Regions from separate parts of the Homo sapiens genome. Here regions 1 and 3 are each linked to region 2. The links are contacts of gene promoters, found by promoter capture Hi-C in human tissues and cell types (Jung and others, 2019). All regions are on one chromosome and are shown on one strand. Each heading gives the region's core, a stretch centred on a gene start or on the middle of the fragment in contact. The rest is flanking DNA. Distances are from core to core; before and after follow the strand shown. Region 1 has its middle 41 kb from the start of PIP4K2A. Region 2 holds the start of ARMC3 (armadillo repeat containing 3). Region 3 has its middle 69 kb from the start of PIP4K2A.

Evidence for each region. Contacts are between HindIII fragments. The study calls those that stand out against the background at their distance.
Region 1: a contact is called between a fragment that was not itself captured here and the fragment with the promoter of ARMC3 in region 2, in 2 of the 25 tissues and cell types used here (hippocampus and mesenchymal stem cells).
Region 3: a contact is called between a fragment that was not itself captured here and the fragment with the promoter of ARMC3 in region 2, in 1 of the 25 tissues and cell types used here (dorsolateral prefrontal cortex).

The regions. Positions count from the first base shown.
Region 1 is chr10:22,754,495-22,757,194 of GRCh38, reverse strand. No RefSeq gene overlaps it. Among named protein-coding and RNA genes, the nearest start is that of PIP4K2A, 41 kb to the right of the region's middle. The HindIII fragment of the contact is 5,778 bases long and covers 1-2,700 here.
Region 2 is chr10:22,926,317-22,929,307 of GRCh38, reverse strand. ARMC3 (armadillo repeat containing 3) reads right to left here and starts at 1,255. Exons shown (of 19, transcript NM_173081.5): 1 at 1,202-1,255. The HindIII fragment of the contact is 8,735 bases long and covers 1-2,991 here.
Region 3 is chr10:22,782,138-22,784,837 of GRCh38, reverse strand. No RefSeq gene overlaps it. Among named protein-coding and RNA genes, the nearest start is that of PIP4K2A, 69 kb to the right of the region's middle. The HindIII fragment of the contact is 7,571 bases long and covers 1-2,700 here.

The DNA.
Region 1 (2,700 bases), core at 103-2,602, 170 kb after region 2:
GAAAGAATCTTTGAAGAGTTTGATTAATCACAGCTACAAAGAACACTTTTATAAAAATACTGGTCCAGAAAGCAGATTATTCTAACTCATTCCTCAGATCACCCTAGTATTGCTTATTGAGTATCAGTGTGGTGCTACACAAGGCACTCATTTTTGAAACTTTTGCAGAAGAGCAAATGCATTCACTATGCTTTGCCACATGGTTATTTCAAAATTTCAATTAAGAACAAACATTCATCATTTTCCCTAGCAAGCTCCTATGCCCAGACCGTTTGAAAGGGCAGGAGAACAATTTAATAAGTTAAATCCTGTCAAAAATAACCTATCAAGCAGATGACAAAAGGAACCTTTGCTTTGAAGCTTGAAAAAAAATTGCATTTCACTATGAAAAATCGCCTGTCTTTAGGATCTGTTTCATGTTTCTTCAAACGATTCATATCAACCTTCCCACAGAGCAAGATTTGAGATGAAGTTATGTAATTTATTGTCATGCTTTAAACATATTATATTTATTTGTCCCTTTGATAGCTTTTTTTCTCTTAGGTCCTTGGAGGCAGTGAGATTACTGTGAATTGACTCTTCCTGTGGTTAATGGAAAAAGTGGCAGGATTTGCTGAAAGTGAGGAAGGTAAGGAGTACAACAGAAGAGATGGAATGAAGAAAAAAAAAAGGTAATGTTGCAGAATGAAAGTTTTGTTAGTGTAAGAGTTGAAATCTGAAGGATTTTCATTCTGGACCTAAAAATAGAAGATCAACCCATAGGTAAATATCACAAATACCATTGGGGTGGAGACTTTGCCTCTAGTGTAGCTTCACCACCAAGTCCAATAGTCTGTATTGTGCAAAGAAGGGAGGAGGCCGGGCAAGGTGGCTCATGCCTGTAATCCCAGGACTTTGGGAGGCCAAGGTGGGAGGATCACCTGAGGTCAAGAGTTCGAGACCAGCTGGCCAACATGGCGAAACCCCATCTCTACTAAAAATATAAAAATTAGCTGGGTGTGGTGCTGCACACCTGTAATCCTGGCTACTCAGGAGGCTGAGGCAGGAGAATCACTTGAATCCAGGAGGTGGAGGTTGCAGTGAGCCAAGATCGTGCCACTGTACTCCAGCCTGGGCAACAGCAAGACCCCATCGAAAAAAAAAAAAAAAGAGAAGGGAGGAGAAGTTCTTGGGTGTCTCTGAGGTGCCCTGATCTGCAGTGGGTAGGCCCTTTACATATTTATCTTGTGTCATCCTCATGACAACTCCATGAAGTAGATGCCCTTTCCCAATATACAGATCAGGAAACTGACACTCAATGAAATTACAGAATAGATTGCAAGTAACCTTTGCCACAGAGCTGAACTCTAGTCTGTTAATTCTAAAGCTCACAATTCTACAACAGAAGTCATCTTGTGTTAATATGAAAATCTGTTCTGTCTGTGGCCTGCCTTTTACTCAGTTATGGTCCCAAATCCATCAACAGCATATAATGGAATGTGATGTGAGAAGATCCTGTCAATGGAAGTCTTTTAAGCCATAAATGAAAGAAAATCAATGAGGAAATGCATCCAAAATAGGACACAGACAAAAATCAGCAACCTCGGTGAGTTGGTTAAATGACACATTGATCATCCAAATTAATGGTTCTTTACCTTTGTTTGAATTATGGGACCCTTTGAGATTCTGATGACAGCTATGAAACTAGACATTTATACAACCTTTCAGAGGGCTGAAGAACCACCACTTCAGTGTATTTAAAAATAATATTGTTTAAACTCAATATTTTTCAAGTGTAAAATGTATTTAAATATGAAAATGTTTAGGTAGGGCGGGCATCTGTAATCCCAGCACTTTGGGAGACCAACGTGGGGAGATCACTTGAGGCCAGGAGTTTGAGACCAGCTTGCGTAACATAGTGAGATCCCATATTCACAAAAATTACTGAAACTAGCCAGGTGTGGTGGCATATGCCTGGAGTTCCAACTACTCAGGAGGCTGAAGCAGGAGGATTTCTTGAGACCAGGAATTCAAGGTTACAGTGAGCTAGGATCGCACCACTGCACTTCAGCCTGAGTGACAGAGCAAGACCCTGACTCTTTATTTTAAAAAAAAAAGTTATGCATATAAATGAAGGACTTTTTGGATACCTTTATATACTCTGCAAACATAAATTATCTGAAGCTTGACCACTGCGATGACACAACTTTTTAAATTTTAATTTAATTCTTAATGATTTTAGAGATGAGGTCTTTCTACGTTCCCCAGGCTGCCCTCAAGCTCCTGGGATCAAGCCATCCTCCACCTCAGCCTCCCAAGACCCTGGGTCTACAGGTACGCACCACCACACTGGCTTGTGATGACGTAACTTTTGAATGAACCGATCAATGTTAAGGGTTACTACTAGGGGCCTTGGATCAGAAATCCATCCATCTTCAAGAAGCCACATTAGAAGGGAACCATTTAAGAAGGATGTTGCTGGCATGTAAAACCAATAGCAGTACCCTACTCCTCGCAGTTCTAGAGGAATAGAACCGAGCATGAATGCTAATTCAGTTGATAATTTCATTTTCGCCCATTATATAAAGTTACATCCTATTATTTCATGTAAATTGATGCATGATGGGGCAGGGCAGGCCCAAGGGCCAGAGCCTGAGGGACCCCAGGGCCTGGATGCCCCAGCCAGCCTCCTCCTAAAGGGGAAGTTGTAAGAGGAATAGG
Region 2 (2,991 bases), core at 6-2,505:
TTTCTTTCTCTTTCTCTCTCTCTTTCTCTCTCTCTCTCTCCCTCTCTCTCTCTCTTCTCTTTTTTTCTTTTTCTTTTTCTTTTTTGAGACAGAGTCTCACTCTGTTGCCCAGGCTGGAGAGTGGCCTGATCTTGGCTCATTGCAACCTCCACCTCCCAGGTTTAAGAGATTCTCCTGCCTCAGCCTCCTGAGTAGCTGGGATTACAGGTACCCGCCACCACGCTCGGCTAATTTTTGTATTTTCAGTAGAGACAGGTTTCCCCACATTGACCAGGTTGGTCTCGAACTCCTGACTTCAGGCGATCCACCCGCCTCAGCCTCCCAAAGTGCTGGGGTTGTAGGCGTGAGCCACCGTACCTGGCTTTGTGTGTTTTTCTAAAGTGATTTTAACATCCTGCCTCAACTTCTATCCCCTACTTTCACCTTCCCTTCCTGGGTTCATATTCCTACTAAATTCTTATATTAACAAATAAATTCATGAAGTCTCAGTTTCCCTTCATTGCTTTAATAATCTCCAGTGGATTAGCATAACATGCCATTACAAATATTTTAAAATCCCTTAGCTATCTAGCCAGTCTCTGATTGTTGAAATTTGTTTCTAATTTTCTGGAAATATGGACAGGGCTGAAAGAACGTCCTTGGACATAAAATTTTCATCCATTATCCCCAACTATTTCTTTAGGATAAATCTCTAGCAGTAAATTAACTGGGTGAAAACTTCAGGGCATTGGATATGCAAACAACTCTGCTCTAAAAATGCATCTTCTTGACTACTGGAGCCATTTTTTTTTTCACGAGTTGATTGGTCCTTTGTATTTGTTCTTCGTGAACGTTCAGCCTATGATTTTAAATATTTTCTAATGAGTTCTGCTTTGAGAAGATTTAAAGAGGAGGAGGGCTCAAGAAATCGAGGCCACTTCTGAGTTGCTCACAGTCAAGTAACGGAATCTGACTTGATCTCACCTCAGATCCCCTCTCGGGCCTCAGTTTTGTCACCTGTTGAATGGGAGGTGGCGGGATGCTTACGAAACCCACCCCAAGCCCCGTCTAACCCTGCGGGCGCGAGGCAGAAACTAACAACGCCCAGCAAGGTGTTGCCTCACTGACCCAAGCAGTCTGCGCCCACGTGGCACCTTCTCCTTTCCCAGGTTTTCCTCAGGCCTCTGCCTTGGGCCTCCCCACCCCACGGGGTTACCTTTACCTGCCGGGAGATCCCGCCGAGTAGCTAGCTGCTCCGCAAACCCAGCAGACGAACCCCCAGTCCCTTGTTGTGCCTCGTTGCTAGGCGACGCCACGCCGCGCCGCGCCTGCGCCCTGGGAACGCTCGGGGCTGCTAGGGCGCCCATTGTCCCGCCGAGGGCAGCGGCCAGTGCGGGAGGAGCCAAGTGCGTCCGCGATTACCTGAATCCAGTGCTTTAGGGGAGAATGGAAACTGGGGGTGGAAGCTGTAAATCAAGAGGCAGTTCAGCCTCAGTTTCTGGCCCAAGGACTGGCTGTGGGTTCAAATACGCAAATACTATTGCATTCTTCCAAATAGAGGCGTCAGCCGGAATCTCTATGCAGATGAAACCCACATCAGCCACCTCCTGCCCAGGCTCCGTTAAGCTGCAGACCTGCACTGCCACATCTCTTTGCACTAGGATGTCCAATCCGTTTCCACAGAACTTCTCATGGCCCTTCAAAGCCCCGTTCTCTTCCTCTTTCTTTCCTCTTCCTGCCATTCTTCCAATTGCCTAGACTCAGAAGGAGCTTCAATTTCCCTTCTTCCTCCCATGCCCCCCAACCACAGTCATCACTTCAGCCACTTCTTGGCGGCTTACATTTTGTTTCCTGCTTGTTCCCTTTCTCATATCCTTATTGTCACTTCAATCCAGCTCGTCATTTTTTGGCCTTCTGGCTGAGAAATTCAGTTGCTCTCTGCTTACAGTTCTTTCTACGTATCACAGGCAAATCGGCCATCCAGAAATCATCGTTCCAGTCTTGTCACTTCCCTACTCAAATGTCAGCGGCTTCCTAAGATAAATTTTCAACACATTGGCCTGGAATTTAAGACCGTCTGCTCCATCTCTACTCCATCTGTGCAACCACATTTTCAACCGATCTCCACCATCCAAGCTCCAGCCAAACTTACTGTTCCCGAAATTTTCCACACTTTTCTCTAGATTTTCTTGCTTATCTGTTCATCACTTCATTTTTCAACAAATATTTATAAAGTAGCTTCTATTTCCCAGGTCATGTGCAATACCTGAAATATTCTCTCATTTCCACTTAATTAAGCCCAGCTCAAATGCCATCTTCATAAAATATTTTTTGATTGCCTTTAGCAAAAAGTCTCTCCCTCTCCTCTTAGACTTTGCAAATTCCGTCTCCTACCGGCCCCTGTTGGTCTCCCAGTCCTAAGAATGATAGATGCTTCTTATAATTGCTACTTTTATATATCTTATGTTCTCTTCTCACCATTTAAATTGCCTGATAAACAGCTTTATAACAATTATTTGTATTCAGTTTTCCATGGTCAAATATCCGGTGTGACTTCTGTATAGAAAAGATCTTAAGTAATGGTCATGAAAGTAGGAAAAGGATTAAGACCAAGTAGCATCAAGGAAACTAAGGAGGGAGTTTCAAGAATATAAGCGTCATCAAGTGTTATATGATTGGACCTTGAATAATATACACCTGTATTTTCAGCCTCTCCCTGTCTTCCACGTTTTTTCCTGTTGGTATATAATTATGTTGAAGCCCCTCCCATGCCTCATCTAAAAAGCAAAAACAAATAAAATCCCTTTGATGTTGTTGTTCCTTCTAACTATTATCCTATTGTTTTCTTTCTCTTCTTGGTCATGACTTTTCAAAAAAAGTAGCCAGCATTAGATACTTACATATTTTTAACTTCCTATTCACTCTTCAGACTATAGTGACCTGTTTTCATCCCAGCACTAAAACTATCCATATCCATTGGATGCTTCTTAGCCCTCATCTTGCTTGACATTG
Region 3 (2,700 bases), core at 69-2,568, 140 kb after region 2:
AAAAGCATTTGACAAATTTCAATACCCATTCATGATTTAAAACAAACAAACAAAAAGCCCTTAGCAAACTAGAAATAGGAGAAAACTTTCTCAATGTGATAGAGGAAATCCACCAAAAACCTACAGCTAATGCCATAATTTAAAACTGAATTATTTTCTCCTAAGATCGGGAAGAAGGCAAGATGTTCCCTCTTGTCACTTCTATTCAGTGCGTGTTTCCAGTTAATGTTATAAGGCAAGAAACCAAAATAAAATTCCTATCTTTGGAAATGTATATGTAAAACTGTCACTATGCACCAGCAATGTGCCTGTTGATACAGAAAATCCAAAGGAATCTACCAAAAAGTAACCACAGCTAAGAAGCAAATTTAAACAACGTCACAGGATACAAGGTCAACATACACAAATCAATTATATTTCTATATGGTAGCAACAAACAATCGGAAATTTACATTTTAACAATATGTTTAAAATGGCATCACAAAACATGATTTATTTAGGAATAAACATAACAAAATAATGATGGTATGTATAGTAACCAAATCAGTCTTTTCCTTTTCAGCAGTTTTCAGTTATCTACAGTCAACTACAATCCAAAAATATGAAGATATTTTGAGAGACCACATTCACACAACTTTTATTACAGTTTGTTATAATTCTTCTGCTTTATTATTAGTTATTGTTACTCTCTTACTATGCCAAATTTATAAATTAAACTTTATCATAGGTAAGTAGATATTAAAAAAACATAGGATATATAGGGGTCAGTACTCTCCACAGTTTGAGGCATAGCTGGGGTTATTGGAACGTGTCCTCTGCAGATAAGGTTGGGCAACTGCACAGAGAAAAGTCCAAGACTTTGCTGAGATAAATTAAAGAATATCTCAATAAATAGTGAGACACACATGTTCATAGTTCAGTTGACTTGGTATTGTTAAGATGTCAATTCTCCCTAAATTGTGAGTCAGTGCTGTCTCAATCAAAATCAAGCGAATTTTTTATGTAGAAATTTATATAGAATTGCAGGCGGGGCGCAGTGGGTCACGCCTGTAATCCTAGCACTTTGGGAGGCCAAAACAGGCAGATCACCTGAGGTCAGGAGTTCGAGACCAGCCTGGCCAACATGGTGAAACCCCTAAAAATACAAAAATTAACCAGGTGTGGTGGTGCGCTCCTGTAATCCCAGCTACTCAGGAGACAGGCAGGAGAAACTCTTGAACCCAAGAGGCAAAGGTTGCAGTGAGCTGAGATAGCACCACTGCACTCCAGCCCGGGTGATGGAGCGAGATTCCATCTCAAAAAAAGAGAAAAAAGAAATTTATGTAGAAATGCAGAATCCTAGAATAAGCAAAATAATTTTGGAGAAAAAAAAAGAACAATCACTGGTCAATTTCAAGGCTTACTATAAAGCTAAAATAAGACAGTGGGATGTTAGCATAAGGACAGACATATAGATCCATGAAACTGAGAGTTCAAAAATAGGCCCACGCATAAATAGTCAATTGGTTTTCAGTTTTCAATAAAAGTACCAAGATATCAAAAGGGAAAAGGTGATTCTTTCTTCCTTCCTTCCTTCCTTCCTTTCTTTTTCCTTCTCTCTCTGTCTCTCTCTCTCTTTCTTTTTTTTTTTTTTTTTTTAGACAGGGTCTTGCTCTGTTACCTAGGCTAGAGTTCAGTGGCATGATCACGGCTCGCTGCAGTCTCAACCCCTTGGGCTCAGCCTCCTGCGTAGCTGGGGCTACAGGTATGTGCTGCCACACCCGGCTGATGTTTTAGTCTTTTGTAAGGGGTCTCCCTATGTTGCCCAGGCTGGTCTCCAACTCCTGGCCTCAAGTGATCCACCTCAGCTTCCCAAAGTGCTGGGATTACAGGCATGAGCCACCGTGCCCAAAAATGCCCTCAATGTCTGACACAAAATGTATTCTAGAAAAATTGACACAAAATGTATTCTAGACCTAAATGGAAAATCTGAAACCATAAAACTTCAACAAAACAGGAGGGAAAACCTTTGTGATTGGGGCAAAGATTTCTTAGATGGGACAAAAAGTGTACAAACCATGCATTAAAAAATTAGCACATTGGAGATATCATCAAAATGTGAAACTTCTACTCTTCCACCTTATTTTTGTTGTTGTTGTTGTTGTTTTTTAGACAGAGTCTCACTCTGTCACCCAGGCTGTAGTAGTGTCGTGATCTTGGATCACTGCAACCTCCACCTCCCAGGTTCAAGCAACTCTCCTGCTTCAGCCTCCCGAGTAGCTGGGATTACAGGCACCCGCCACCAAGCCTGGCTAATTTTTGTAATTTTTTTAGTACAGATGGGGTTTCACCATGTTGGCCAGGCTGGTATTGAACTTCTGACCTCAAGTGATCAGCCCACCTCGGCCTCCCAAAGTGCTGGGATTACAGGCATGAGCCACTGCACCCAGTCTCTTCCACCGTATGTTAAGTGAAATAAGCCAGGCACAGAAAGGCAAGTACTATATGATCTCACTCATAGGTGGAATCTAAAATGTTGTTATCATAGAAGTAGAGAGTAGAATAGCAAGCAGTTACCAAAGGATGGGGAGGGGTCTCAAAAAATAATACAGTTAAGAAAGTGAAAAGGCAAAACACAGATTAGAAAATAAAGGACTTACGTCCAGAATTTGTAAAGAATCTCAAACTTCAATAATGAGGCACAGTCCTTGATTTTTTTAA